Regions from separate parts of the Homo sapiens genome. Here regions 1, 2 and 3 are each linked to region 4. Evidence: promoter capture Hi-C in 16 types of primary human blood cells and fetal thymus (Javierre and others, 2016). All regions are on one chromosome and are shown on one strand. Each heading gives the region's core, a stretch centred on a gene start or on the middle of the fragment in contact. The rest is flanking DNA. Distances are from core to core; before and after follow the strand shown. Region 1 overlaps LOC102723436 (a long non-coding RNA gene). Region 2 overlaps CDC7 (cell division cycle 7). Region 3 overlaps CDC7 (cell division cycle 7). Region 4 holds the start of GLMN (glomulin, FKBP associated protein).

Region 1 (3,616 bases), core at 239-2,738, 750 kb after region 4:
CAGCTTCTCTTCTCTACTAAAAAAGGTGTCAGAAAGTCTGGGAATACAGACTGTCCTAAAGCACTGCAAGTAGTTCCCTCCTCCTGACGGCAATAGAGCCCCCTAGAGACCATCCGGGTGACCAGTATGAAGAAGTCGGTGGGTAGCCCTATTTGTTGGAAGTGAGAAATAATGAGAACTTTTTATGTTTCAAAGATGGAATAGGAAAAGTTGTCAGACCTGCAATGTAATAGTCCCAGGGGATGAAGAGTATACAGAAGTTTGGGGTCTATAGGGCTGGACGGCCTGATACAATCTGATGCCACCCCTCTGGATGACTGGATCTTTGCAGAAAGGTCACATAAGGGACTGAAAGTTAGTACTAAGAACTAACTTTCTGCAGTTCTGGGAACTTAAGCAAGGGGCCATCTTGGCCAAGCTGAACACAAGGTTGATCATTTTCCTGAAGAGACCTTGCTGTGGTTTGAATGCGTTCCCTACAAAATTCATGTGTTGAAGCTTAATCTCCATGTGATGGTACTGAGTGGTGGGGCCTTTTGGGAAGTGATTAAGTCAGGAGAGCTCCGCCCTCATGAATGGATTAGTGCCTTGTAAAAGAGTGTGAGGAACTAGTTTCGGTCCATGTTGCTCTTCCACTCTTCTCCCATGGGAAAACACACTGTTCCTCCCCTTCAGAGAATAAAGCAAGAAGGTGCCATCTTGGAACCAGACACTGAACCTGCCAGTGCCTTGATCTTGGACTCCCAGCCTCCAGAATTGTGAGAAAGAAATTTCTGTTGATAATAAACTACCCAGGCTCAGGCATTTTGTTACTGTAGCACAAACAGACTCAGATAGACCTTGAATAGCCTGTGCAAAGCCTTGAACTAACATCATCTGAAGGCTCAAGTGGGCACTTTCCACAGCCATGTGGCAATGATCAGCAACATTTCCCCCCCTGGAGTGTGAAAGTCAGGCTGACCCTTCTTTTTGAATTATGTAAACCTCTGGGATTTTGGAAAAGTTATGGGGAGACAGAGGGCCCCAAGACGGAGAGGCTAGACTTTCTGCTAATCCCACAGTCTGATAAACCATGGGAACTTAGGCTACTTGTTTTGTGTAAAGAAGCTAAATGTGACAGTATTTACCCCCTGGGTTTGTGGAGCAGTCCTGTTGATTACACTCAGGATACATGTATACATAAGCAATTGAAAATGAGGTTTCACCACCAGCCCAAAGTTGAAAGCTGGTGAAGGGGCTGATCCCCAGCCTCTGTCTTGATGGTTCTGGGATTCACTGAGTCAAAAACACACAGCAGAAGCCACTTGATAATGTATTTTATACTTATAACAAGAAGCAGAAATGATCACTCTCGGGGGAAACAATGCTAAAACAAAACAAAATAAGAGCTTGAGCTTTGAGACAAGGTTTGCCACAGTCATTCTGCATGTAAATAAATATTTCCCTACAACTTACTCTCTGCCATGCACTATGCTAACTACTAGGGAATAAAATGAAAAACAAAGCAGACATAGTCCTTGCTCTCTAGTATTAAGGTAAAGAAATACGTTAATCAAATAATCACTCAAATAAATAAATAACTGCAGTTAACATTGAAAACTAATTATCTATTTTCAGCCCAATTAATTTCCAGCTAAGAAACAAGACAGATCAGCCTCTATGTATAAAGCTCAAGATACAAAAGAGTTAAGCCCTACATGTGGCCCTGTTAAGGCTGTCCCAGGGGGAAAAGAGGGACCCATTCATTAGTCCCGGGGCAATGGGTTGGTTCTTCCTCTACTGTCATTTCAGAGAATGTGCATTCCCTCTGGCATCCTGGCTGGCCCGGAAGGTCACTGCAGGCTCAGGATGCCACAAATACAGGATTGTTCACTTTCTTTGGCTGGGGAACTGGGCTGGGGACCAAGCTGGCCCACAAATGCAGGTTTTCCCACTTTATTTCAAGGGCAGCCAACTTCAGGGCCTTAAAAACGGGCTAATGGCAACAATGAGAGTGATGGTGAGGGGAGCCAAAGTCAATGCCATCGACAGGCCATGTTGCCTTCAGAAAATTTCCCAATCTTTGAAATAACTACAGAGTGATTGCCAGAGTGACTCAGAGGGGAGGAGAGTTGGAGTGACTTTGGCTACTAAGGTTGTGTGTTGAAATAATAAAAGGAATTTCCTAGGGATCCCCAATCTAGTCTATTTTTTAACAGTGTAGTTTCAATTTCTTCCTATAATTCTTAGGCATACCTTGAATGAATAGAGAATTTTCTGTTAATTAACCAATTCAATACTGATTAATTCTAGTTCACTCTTTTAATAGACGTAAGATCTTAGGTTACAATTAATCCATCTTTCATTTCATCTAACCAACAAACATATTTAGTGCCTATTATATATCAGACTGTGCTACAGTCGAAGAGGGGCACCTAACCCAGACTGAAGAGGAGAATAACAGAGAAGGGTGGCTTCCTATAGCAGAGATAAAGCTTTGGGGGTCGCCAAATTTCATGCCATCTATCACTTCCCAAGCACATGGGAAACTACACTTCCCAGACACCCTTAGGAGTCCTTAGGTTGGGGCCACATGACTGGATATCCAATAGGATAGAGCAGAAATGATGTATGCTACTCTCAGGCCTGGCCATAAAATTCACTGTGCAACTGTCCATGTTCCCACTTTCTTTCCCTTCTGTTGTAACCTCTGAATCCAGATGGCAGCAATATAAGATGAAAACAATAAGGATCTCTAAGTCACTGCTTAGAGGAGAGCCACAGAAGGACTATGGGGCTTATTTGCTATAACCTAGCCTTGCTTACTCTAATATGTACTCTGTAAAGGTGGGGACATCTAAGTTTAGTACTGAAGAAGAAAATATCTAGGCTATGTCAGGTAAGATGACCAACTTTGATGATCTTATTCCAGCTAGATGGGGAAAATAAAACTATATCAAAAAATAGCCAGCTTACCAAGCAAAATATCTTGATCAAATACTGAAGTCTTGAATGAACCTCAGTTTTCTGCTTGGGAACAACTGAGTATTGTGGTTGTAGTCACCAAAGTAAAGACTGTAGAAGTTTCCTGGAAAAGTCTGATTCATAGCTGAGAAAGTTCTAACAAGAATGTAGGAAGAAGTAGTAGGTTCATTGAAGGAATCACTTTCTAATCATAAAAATGGATCATCCAGCTCTTGACCCTCTGAAGTTCACAATTTAATGAGGTAGAATTGAGGAGATCAGAGGCAGAATGTCATGTTTATTCAAGTCCTAGAACCTTGGATCCAGAATTTTTCCTCTTCCAGGAAGCCTCTTCTACTCAAATGTTAAACATGTCTCTGCTTAAATGTTGCTTCCTTAGGGAACCTTTCTGACAGCTTGATATAAAGAAGTCATCCAGTTACTGTCTGTTGAATCTCCCTATTCTAATTCTCTGTGTAGTGCTTCCCACTCTCTGATACTTTTCTTGTTTATGAATTTTGTTTGTTTGATTATTGGCCATCTCCCTTCACTAGAATAGGGGAAGGAATACTTTGTTCATGTCTCTCTCTAGCATGTTTCCAAGTGGCTAGCACATAGTAGGAGCTCCATAAATGTTTATTGAATAAATAAATAATCCCAGGAGGCTAAAAAA
Region 2 (3,684 bases), core at 436-2,935, 780 kb after region 4:
TCCTATACTTACCAAACAGATTAGGTAGATATACTGACCTATCAATGCTCAAAATAACAAAATGAATACATGTCCCTAAACTATTTCTGTATTCTATGACTACTAAATGGGAAATCTGTCAGCTGACCACCCACCAGACTTTTTCCCATAGGAAGTTTGATATGCTGTCATTGATATATACCATTTCTGAATATAAACCTCTATCTTGGGTCCTTTTCTCTTTGCCTACTTCATTATCTGTCTTCCCAACCCACCTAAGACTTAGTCAAAACAGGATACAGAGATCTGGATGGCTCTACGCAGAGGAAAAATCTCCAATAATACCGTCAATTCTGTATTCACTTTTCCTTTCAGCAGCTACCTAATTATATCTAAGATGGTGTGAAAAAATATACAACTCAAAAAAGAAAAGCATTTGGACTATCAATCTTCACCTTGGTCCTGCAGCTTCCCTTTATCAACCAGTGTATGTATTATTTTAAATTCCCAACTGTAAACACGTACAATATTTAATAAAACATCCAGAAACTTTGTGGTCAGCACCATGTAATTTCCGAGGAGAATGTTTTAGGTAGGGGCAGAGAAGGAAGAAAATTGAGAAGCCAGTAAGAAAAAAATGGCAATTCACACCAGAATGCTTTCATGAAGTGTTTTTTAAAAATGGATGAATTCAATTTTAAGTGATACTTTGCCCCATGACCAACATTTCCTCATTGTTTTAGTGTTCATAAAAGGCCTAATATGTACCTCTAGAAAAGGAAATTATCTTCTTTATTTACAAAATTGTTAAGAGCACCAGCACCAGGTTGAGTTTCCCCAAACTATACCTAGCTCATAACTCTAAAAGAATCTACAAATTAAGTCTTTTGATTCATTTAATCCTCATCACATCTGTTAATTTTAATTAATTAAAACTAAAACTGCTCCTTTTTCTGTATATGTCAGTGAAAGGTAATTAGGGAAGCTAAAAATCTGACCTAATAGGAACCCACCTAAAATCTACTTAGGTAGGTTTAACTCAAAGAAGATCATGTTGTTAGTCCCAAGAACTATCCCAGGCATTTTAAGTATTCTTAATCTATATTTTAGAATGTGCCACCAAACACTAAAATGTTAAAATAAATTATTAATCCTGCTCTGGTCTCTAAACAAGAACTTGTGGCTATTACAAAGTATTCTTTTTTATTCTACCTCATAACAGTAAACATTAAATGAAGATCCATTATCACAAGCTCATATCTTTAAAAAATGGATGCAACAAAGCTTCTTCTGCTGTTATTCTTGAAGCTGGATTTAGATCTAGAAGTTTATCAAGCAGGTCATAAGCTTCATCAGGTACCTCATTCCAGCCTTCTAAATTGGTATTATACTCATCAAAACAATGCTCACAGCTATTACTATCCCCCTTTTTAAATGAATTCCCTGAGTATTGTCCTGGAGGTGTTTGAACGAGGCAAGAAGCTTTATGGTCAGTCTTCTCTGAAATAGCTGGTTGATGAGAAGCATGCCCTTGTATATCACTTGTTAACTTGGGAGTGCTAGAATCCATACCCCTGAGTCTCTCACAGAGTTTTCTCAAGTCTTGTGCTGGAACTTCTTTGCTACATAATATTGATTTCCCTAAAAGCAAAAGAAGAAAAAACAAAAACAGAAAAAAACATTTTATTATTTGAATATATCAGAAGCCTCTCTCATGAGAAACATGAAAGTTCAAACATATGCTTTATAGACATGGACACACACACACACACACACACACACACACAGTATGAGATAGAGCACCACATGCTATATTTAAGTTGTATTTGAATTGCATAGTGGGAGATAAAGTGGGAGATAGTAAGTACAAAGCAGTGACTTACTAAGCTATGCCAGGCACTCACTTGACTCTGCCAATTTCTCAAGCTTCATCTTACCCTTCTATAATCTTTAACTAGCTGCAGCTCCCACGCCCCCACTCTACTTCCTTTCCATGCTTCTATGTCTTTGACTACATGACTCCTGTCTTTGCCTAGGATGCCCTGCACCCCTTGTGTGCCCAGGACACTCTCACTGACATCACCACTCAGATCAAGAATCACCTCTGAGGCTTGACACCCTCAGAGAGAACTGATCAATTTCAGTTTCTACTGTATCTTGAGAGTTCTACTATTACTTTTGCTATCCTATATATGTCTGTCCCACCTAGTAGACTGAGCTCTTTGAAGGCAGGAACTGTCTTATTTATCTTTGAACCCCCCAAACCCAGCCTATGCCTGGTACAGATTAGGTAGTCAGTTAATGTCTGTTGGACTAGACAAAAAGGCATTATTCTTTTCAACAACTGTTCAAATGACACATACATCCTTAGAGATGCTGTTCTTGACCAACCTATCCTAAATAAGCCTCTTCCCTCCCCTTTTCCTTTTATCTCAGTACCACTCATTTCTCATAGTATTTATTTATGTTCTCTCCCTCACTAGAATTTAAGCTCTGTGAAAGCAGAGACTCGCAATAGTACTTGGCACACATAAAGCCCCAATAAATGTTTCTGAATGAACAAATAAACAAACTAGATCTGTTTTTAAAAATATAAATGTATTTGAAATAACTTCCTGATGGGTTTATTATCAGATGTGCAAAAAAAAGTTAATCACACAAATGGCAATCATGTATTATTTTTGCCTTACATTTCCTTATTAAACAGAAATATACTAAATGTACGAAACAACAAGTACCACAACATTTAGATGCCTTTCTGAGAATGTAGATTGTCAACAAAGTCATTAATCTGACTGTGGATGATAAAAAGTTACCTTTACATATTCTGAACTAACTACTGGACTGGTGTACTAAGCCAGGGAAAAAAATGGGGGAGGGAAAGGGAGGAAACAAACAATTACTGAAGACCAAATTCTTTGAGAGTACAATATGCCAATGCTTTTTTACTTTTAAACTGATTCTATCATTCCTATTCTCTCTAGAAAATTATAGCCAGGGGGGAATATTCATATAGTTTTATTCCTTTATTAGCTTGTTCTGAAGTCATAAAATAACTAATAGTATATGTTATAGCATGTCCCCAAGTTATACAATATGCTTTTTTTTATATGACCAAAAAGAGGGTTCATTTACAATATTCAGGAAAAATAACTTCAAGTAACACTATCAGTCAACATATTTTATTACAGACTACTATGTGTCAGGAATTTGTTTCAGCTCAAGACTTTTCTTTTTAATTTATTCAACACAATTCACTGAGTACTTAATGACAACCCACAATGGAGCCAGGTTTAAGGGTTGAGGACAGATAAGAGAAGTAAAGGTGCTCTCACTGCTAATCTCAGCCAAGTCATTTCTTTAGGTTACAAAGGGGAACACAGTTGTGTTTGTTGAAATTTTGAGGCTTTTATACTCAGTCCAAAGTTATAGTAAGATCAAGACTAAAATAACTACAGATGTCATACTAATACAACTGAGACAAGTCCTATGGCATTATTTTTATTATTTGTTTTTTTGAGACAGAGTCTTGCTCTGTCGTCAGGCTGGAGTGCAGTGGTGCAATCTTGGCTCACTGCAACCTCCATCTCCCAGGTTCAGCTGGTTCTCCTGCCTCAGCCTCCCGAGTAGCTGGGACTACAAGTGCATGCTACCATGCCCAACTAATTTTTGTGTTTTTAATAGAGATGGGGTTTCACCACGTTG
Region 3 (3,914 bases), core at 1,200-3,699, 800 kb after region 4:
TATTTTATACATGAAGGTCTAGGCTTCTATTTTGACATTTTAAGTCACTTTTGTTTTCTGCTGCATAATATATCCAAGTTGGTTTTAATATACCAATAGTCTCCTTAACTACACTCCTTGCCAGCCTGGAGTCTATCTGTAACATAGTAGCCAGTCGGCTTGCAACATAGCAAACAGAGTTTAAACAGAGTATTCTGATAAAGCTAAGTCACCTTGTCACTATTGTGCTCAAAACCTCTAATGGTTTCACATCTCACTCCATTAGAAAGCCTCTTTACATCTCTCTTTGACTTCATTCCAATTACCTTCCCCATTCTAGCCACAATGACCTCCTTGCTATTCTTGAATGCTAGGCACACTCCCATCTCAGGGTCTTTGTACTTGCCGTTTCAGGGTCTTTGTACTTGCCGTTTCCTCTGTTTGGAATGCTCTTCCCCAAATATCTGCACAGGTCACTCCTTCACCACCTTGAAGTCTTAGCTCAAATGTTACAGAAGGCTATGAGCAACCATACTCACTAAAATTACAATCTCCTTCCCCAATACTTCCTATCTCCCCTTCCCTTTTACATTTTCTTAGTAACATTAATCACTTTTGAGCACAGTATTTACTTCTTTTGTTTACTCTCTGTCTATTGTCTAACTACCACAGTGTTAATTTCTGTTTTATGGTTTGATTTATCCCTAGCACCTAAAAAAGTACATGTATATAACAGACAATAAATATTCATCACATAAATGAAACGTTTTCAATATCTTGTCATGGATTAAAACTGACACTCTAGGCATATAGTCATGGTTATTCTGGGGCTTCATGTACTCTCTGGTTTATACCTCCTGGAACTAGGGGATAATACATAATATAAGCCCAAACTGGGACACTCTTGAGTGAAAAGGCAGCAGGAATAATAATTACATTGTGACAATAGCCGTAAGCTAGATCTGTCCCAGGCAAACAAAGATGGTACCCATAGCCCATTTTAGAAGCATGGCTAAGGGTGTCATTGTAGCAAACAGAATGAAGCAAGCCTTCCTTCCAGTAGAGTTCACCAGTATGGAGGAGACTTTCAATATAGAGTTTATACATCATTCTTTCACTGAACAGATCTTTCTCACTTATTAAAACTTGGCATATAGTAGATACTTAAAAAAAAATAAAAGCTTACTGGCCAGGCATGGTGGCTCACACCTGTAATCCCAGTGCATTGGGAGGCCAAGATAGGAGGGGATCACTTGAGGCCAGGAGTTTGAGACCAGCCTGGGCAACATAGCAAGATCCTGTTTCTAAAAAAAATATTTAAAATTAGCTGAGTGTAGCGGCACATGCCTGTAATCCAAGCTACTCAGGAGGCTGAGGGGGTAGGATTGCTTGAGTGCAGGAGTTAAGGCTGCAGTGAGCTGTAATTGCACCACTGCACTCCAGTGACAGTGGTGTGACAGAGAGACCATGTCTCAAAAAAAAAAAAAAAAGCTTGCCAAAACAGTGAAAGAATAAACATTTGACCAATATTATGCCAGATAGTTTGTGCATTACAGCATTTTTCTTAATAGGAAAAAATAGAAACAATCTATAGGGTCAATAGTAAAAGGTGATTGAATATATTATAATATAATATGCAATGGACCTTAAATCCAGTTGTAGAATATTTACTACATGAGCAATATTCAAGATATATATTAAAAAAAATGGAGATCAGAAATAAGATCCCATATTCTGGTTCTCTTTTCAAAAACAAAAACAAAACAAGATCCCAATTTAGTTTCTAAAAAATGTACCTATGTATGCCTAGAAAGGCTAAAGGAATATAACAAAATGTCAACAGTGGCAATATTTCAATAATGGGAAAAGACTTTATTTTGGCTTTCTTTACTTCAAAAATTTCAATAATCATGTTTATCAGAAAAATGTTATAAAAATCTGACAAATATCTCAAAATAAAGAGACATGCTATTCATCCATTACACTAAGTATTTTACTTTATATCCTTACATTAAATCATTCATTCAAATATTTTCAAGCACCTACTATGTGCTGGACACTGTTAAGCTCTGGGAATGCTAAGATATATAAAACATCCAATCAAAAATATAACTTCAATAAGGAGTAAAGTTGATGAGGTGCAGGCATATACCTGTCTCATGATCTAATTTGATTTACTTTCCCAATTAGATTACTAGACTGTTATGTGCCTGGACCTCATCAGCTTTGCTCCCTATTGAAGTTATGTTTATATAACTTTAGCTGTTATTAAGATCATATTTAAAAAAGAACCATAAGAGTAAAGTTTTAGCACGTTTTATAATTTATCATATTATAATGTCCAATGTTCTGTTACATAAACGCTACAAAACTTTTGAAATCCGTAATAAAATTCACCCCATTCATTACTTCCCAGCAGATTTTCAGAATATTAGAATAGTGGCATTCTCCTAAACATGATGCTAGAACCAATTCAGAGTCATCCATTCAGATACTCTGCTGAAGTCACAACATACTTTAGAAACCAGAGGAGATACTGCCGCCAAGGGGTTTACAGTGGAGACAAAATGCAGAGTCCTAAGCAATAGAAAAAGAATACTACAATGACTGTGTTACTGTGTTATGTGTCCAGTGACTAGTAAGGGAAAGATGAACTAAAAAAACAGCTAACTGCTGGAAAAATGGAAAGGAAGAGGAACAGTATCCATGAAACTGGATGAAAGTGGCATTTTAAGATTATTCTAGCACCAACATACAAGATGAACTGAAGAATGGAAAAGTGCAAGCAGGCAGCATAGGTGAGAAACTGTTGTAAATCAGGAACAAAGTGTAAGGAAATTAATTAATGTGGTGGAAATGGGAATGGAAAGAAGACACAATGCCATACTTACTAAAAAGAAATAAAGCTAGGTGACGATATGGGGAACAAATAAAAAGCATCAGCTGAAGATTAAAGTTTCAAGTTTAGGTAAGTGGGATAACTGACTTCCATCAAAGCAGAAAGTATGTGATGTCATATTTTTCTAGGGTGGGGTTATAAAGAATATATGGACAAAAGGTCAAAATAAGTATCTTTTAGACAAGCACAGAATTCACTTAAGACAAAGATGGGAAAGATGATCTGGCTACCCTTTCAGAAAAAAAAAAATACAGTCAACTAGAATTCCTCTATTTAACAAATATTTATTATTAACAAATACCTACTATGTCCCAGGTCCTGTGCCAGAGCAGAAATGAAGGTACACATGCGAGTGTACAAGAGCAGGCACTGCTTGACCCTGTCTTATTCACCCTAAGGTCTGGTTTACGGTCAAAGAACATTTCATGCTGTACACTGAGATATGGTGCTTTATTATTGCTACAAACATTTCATATTTTTTTGTCTGTGAGTTCTGCTTTTGAATACTTAAGTGATGATCTCCAGTGTCAATTTCTACATTTAAGCTTAAGGCAATGTGGTGAGTAGAGATAAGAACACAGATACAAAAGAGAAATTTAATTTGGGCATCATCAAATTTCTGCATTCTTAATTACCAATACTGAGACCATAGCAACTTCAACCGTAAAACAGGTTGTATTACAGTCTTCCAAATCGCAATTCAGTCCTACATTTAGATCATACGAAGCTCTGTTTTAACACTGTCCTATAGAAACATACAATTCACTTTATAAGATTCAATCTTATTTTTTGAGAGGAATTGAAAACACAGAATTGTTGCCTGAAAAATCTTTATAACTGTACATCTTTGGATTTAAACACGTACCTGCAAGTTTAAAATTCTGCTCGTTTTTTTTTAAAGAGCCTTCAGCCTGAAACCGGTCACGCTGGGGAGAAAAAGCCATTGGCTCATCCATCTGAATCCCCAAAGACGCCTCCATCACAAGCCAATTGAGATGCAAAATGCCAGCTAAGGGGTTACATCCACAGGGGGAGC
Region 4 (3,693 bases), core at 806-3,305:
ACAGCCAACCTCCCTGCCACCCACCTCCAACTAAATTAGACTTCGTTATTCCTTCTCGTAACATCACAGTCTTTTCCTTCATAGTGCTTATCACAATTTGTAATTATGTATTTGTTTATGTTAATTAACTAATTAATTTATTATTATTTATTCCTCTGTTCCACTAGGCAAGAACTGTGTCTATTCTGTTCACCATATCTTCAGAGCCTAACACAGGTCCGACATATCTTATACTCAATAAATAATTTTTGAAAGAATGAGTAAATTAAGACCAAAGCCAATATAAGATTAGTGAGTCTTCACAAAATAAAAATCATAGCTACATATGCTTTTAATCCCCTTCACATTCTACTCCTCTTCTAGAAACTCTGTGTGATATGTGGTAATATCTTGCCTTTTTAGAACCAGAACTAGTACAAGACAGCTTTTTAATGAAAATCTGGACTTGATGTAACAAAGAACAGAAAAGGTTTCTTGGAGTGACAGCGAAACTTGGAGAGTGAGTCTCTGGCATATAAAGCAATAAAAGGAGAGTGTACCTGAAGCGGTGAAAAACAAACACCTTCTACAGACACTCATTCCTTCACTAGCAGTCTGAGTGCTTAGTTTGGTTTTCTTAAAGCCTGGAGTAGAGGAATGTAACAGTCTATGTGAGAATTTATAGGCCTTCCCAGATCTTTCCCTTCCCTCTCATGATAATTTTCTCTAAAAAAAAAAAGGTAACCATTATTGTTTTAAAATTGGTACAAGTAATACAAGATAAGTAGATATGCCAATGTAGTTGTCCATGTAGCTGTCATACCTTTTAGAAGCATCTTCTTGTTTCAAAGTACTTGTCTGTTTAGTACCTACAATAAAAATACAGTCATGTGCTACATAATGACATTTCCGTAAACGACGGACAGCATACAGACAGCGGTCTCATAAGATTAAAATACTGTATTTTTACTGTACCTTTTCTATGTTTAGATATACAGTTGCCTACAGTACTTAGTACAGTAACATGCTGTGCAGGTTTGTAGCCTGGGAGCAATAGGCTGTACCATATAGCCTAGTGTGTAAGTAGGCTGTACCATCTAGGTTTGTGTAAGTGCACTCGATGATGGTCACACAAGGATGAAATCGACTAACAACTTATTTCTCAAAATGCATCCCCGCAGTTAAGCTACACATGGTGGCAGTAGGTCAGGTCTACACAAACACATTAGGTACAAGATAGATTCCTACACAAATAACAAACTGTAGACCACCTTTTCTTCTTTTCCACATATTTTATGTCCAATCGTGTGTAAATCAAAATGAAATAGGAAGGGAGAGCAATTTGTTTTTGCAAATTGATTACTGTCTAATTTTTCTTGGTTAAAATGTATCTCTTTGGGGATTGAATTTTCTTCTGTATCATAGTTGCTTAATTAACCACTCCTGAAAATCTGAGATCTGGGTACTTTTAGGGGAAACCTCTCTCCGTCTGCCAAACGTCCTCTCTGGGGGAAGAGGGGAGTCCGGCACCTTAAAGAACTGGGCACCCAAGCAATCTGGAAAGGAGGACCGGTCCTAGGTTCAAGGCCAGCTGCCAACGCTGCCCTAGTCACTTGCCCCGAAACCCGGGGACCCCAGGCCTGGGTTCCCGGGGCCTCCACTGTCCTTTGTCTCAGAGGCTGGGGCCACAGTCCGCGTGAGGGAAATCTTGGAACACTGGCGTAAAGGGGTGAGGGGCGGCCAGGAAATCTTTCCCAGGAGGTGCGGACGGCGGTGGGAAGCTTTCGGCCTACTCTACCTGGGAGAACCCCTCCCCTGAAGCAGCCTTTCAGGAGCGCCCGCGCGCTGCGGTCTATAACTCGAGATCGGGGCCCAGCTTTCAGGGTCCAAAAGTGGGAAGAGATCCTTGCTCCTACCTGCGGCTTTTCGAGAGCAGCGGGGAGCCCCGGCCTTGCGGCCGGCAGAAGACGGCCCAGCGAAGTCCGCCATGGGGGAGAGTAGTCTGCCGGACGGGGACACGCTCCGGCGTCTCGCCCCGAGGCCCCGCCTCCCTACGCGTAGCGCGGGGCGGGGCCAGAAGAGCGGGCTAAGACGCCGGAGGAGGTGGCGGCGGCTGGGAGAGGCGAGGGTTCTGGCCGGTAAGTGGAGTTGTGGAGAGGTTCAGGGTGGCCAGGGCTCGCGGTTGGCCGTGAGCCGCGGCGGACTTGGTGCTGCGGGCCGACTAGGCCACGCGAGGTGGTGGAGCCTGCCCACCTAGGCGAGCAGGAATCGGAAGACATGGCTTCCTCTGATGCAGCCCGCACGCGCGCTGGGGTGTTCACTCGCCTTCCAGCGCGCTGCCCTGAGGACCGGGCTGACTCGCGCCCCTACTGAGGGCTTGGGGCCGAGCCTTGCCGCCAGGAGAAGCGATGGTCTCCTCCTGAAGGCCGCCGTTGTCTTGTCTCCGTGTGATACAGTGATTTCACTAGCTGGATTGATCACTTTGGGGACTGCAACTCCTAGAGAGAAATGGAATGGAGGGCATCTGAATCTTCACCCCCTATAGATAAGCTTGTGTTGCACCCCAATTTTTGTGAGGTGAGACATTAAAAATGAAAAATCCCCTGATGATTAGAATTTTGATTTCAGGTCCACCTTTTGGAAATTTTTTTTCAGAAAAGAAGTGCTTTGCTTTTTAAAAGCCCTTTAGTTCGTATATGCCTCGCCTCTTGGGAGTGCTCGAGAGGTTTTTTTTGTTTTTTTTTCCTTCAAAGTAGCTTTCAAAACTATGCTCCTAGAAAACTTAAAACATGCAATAAGGGCTTCTAAAAAAACACTTTATTTTCTTAGGCAAACATACTAAGATTCAGTAATAACATTTCAACTTTAAAACTTTACATTTTCTCCTAGCATGCTATTGGACCAAAAAACACAACAACAAAAACTTTCCATTTTCTTTATTGTATTTACTAATAATTTATCACACTGAAACATAACTTTTGAATACTTAAGTGTAATATCACGGATAGTTAACAGTGTGTTTTGTATTTGTAGATTTTAGCATCGAAACTAGGAGAAATAAGAATGGCTGTAGAGGAACTTCAGTCTATAATAAAGAGATGTGTAAGTATTAATTTTTGTAAAATTAAATACCTTTCAAAATATGGGAAGGGCACAGATTGTTTTTAATTATATTTGTGGTCACTCAAATTGTTTATCTTCTTTAATCCTTGCTTTTTTTGACCTGTAAAGAGCATGAGTGGGGGAGGCAGATTGGATTATTTCTCCAGGTGACATACTTATCTAAATAACCTTTTACATTTTAATCCTGATCCTTTTCATAGATTTCACTGGTACAGTAGATTTCAAGGTCACTTATTAAAGTATTTATTAGGGTAATCCTAATTTTGATACGTGTGTTATTTACGTTACATTTATCTAGAATTTAAACAGATTTCCTTTTTTCATAGATAAATCAAGAAGTTATTGTATTTAATTTTTATTTGCATATACTTTTTTTTGTTTGTTTTTTGGGTTTTTTTTTTTTTTGCCAGCAAATCCTAGAAGAGCAAGACTTTAAAGAAGAGGATTTTGGCCTATTTCAGTTAGCTGGGCAAAGATGCATAGAAGAAGGGCACACAGACCAGCTATTAGAAATTATTCAAAATGAAAAGAATAAGGTGCGTACAATCTTGGTGTTTACTTTTCAGTCTTGGGAAGAGAATAATCACATGA

The links. The method cuts DNA at HindIII sites, captures the fragments that hold promoters and counts their contacts. A CHiCAGO score of 5 or more calls a contact.
Region 1: a fragment that was not itself captured here is called in contact with the fragment with the promoter of GLMN in region 4 in 1 of 17 cell types (activated CD4 T cells); the score reaches 5.0 in activated CD4 T cells.
Region 2: a fragment that was not itself captured here is called in contact with the fragment with the promoter of GLMN in region 4 in 1 of 17 cell types (endothelial precursors); the score reaches 5.6 in endothelial precursors.
Region 3: a contact is called between a fragment that was not itself captured here and the fragment with the promoter of GLMN in region 4, in 7 of 17 cell types (megakaryocytes, activated CD4 T cells, non-activated CD4 T cells and 4 more). The highest score is 11.1, in megakaryocytes.

Annotation. Positions count from the first base shown.
Region 1 is chr1:91,551,750-91,555,365 of GRCh38, reverse strand. All of the region lies in intron 3 of LOC102723436 (a long non-coding RNA gene), which reads left to right. Among named protein-coding and RNA genes, the nearest start is that of CDC7, 53 kb to the right of the region's middle. The HindIII fragment of the contact is 1,976 bases long and covers 501-2,476 here.
Region 2 is chr1:91,521,977-91,525,660 of GRCh38, reverse strand. CDC7 (cell division cycle 7) reads right to left here. Exons shown (of 12, transcript NM_003503.4): 12 at 1-1,620. The coding sequence ends at 1,226. All of the region lies in intron 4 of LOC102723436 (a long non-coding RNA gene), which reads left to right. Among named protein-coding and RNA genes, the nearest start is that of CDC7, 23 kb to the right of the region's middle. RefSeq lists an enhancer at 1,932-2,001. The HindIII fragment of the contact is 444 bases long and covers 1,464-1,907 here.
Region 3 is chr1:91,501,661-91,505,574 of GRCh38, reverse strand. It overlaps CDC7 (cell division cycle 7), which reads right to left. Exons shown (of 12, transcript NM_003503.4): 2 at 3,744-3,914. The coding sequence starts at 3,858. Among named protein-coding and RNA genes, the nearest start is that of CDC7, 2.8 kb to the right of the region's middle. RefSeq lists an enhancer at 3,883-3,914. The HindIII fragment of the contact is 1,953 bases long and covers 1,473-3,425 here.
Region 4 is chr1:92,297,349-92,301,041 of GRCh38, reverse strand. It overlaps GLMN (glomulin, FKBP associated protein), which reads left to right and starts at 2,055. Exons shown (of 19, transcript NM_053274.3): 1 at 2,055-2,117; 2 at 3,013-3,081; 3 at 3,513-3,638. The coding sequence starts at 3,043. It overlaps RPAP2 (RNA polymerase II associated protein 2), which reads right to left and starts at 1,983. Exons shown (of 13, transcript NM_024813.3): 1 at 1,896-1,983; 2 at 803-848. The coding sequence starts at 1,968. RefSeq lists enhancers at 1,570-1,799, 2,020-2,489, 2,061-2,957 and a silencer at 2,221-2,558. The HindIII fragment of the contact is 769 bases long and covers 1,763-2,531 here.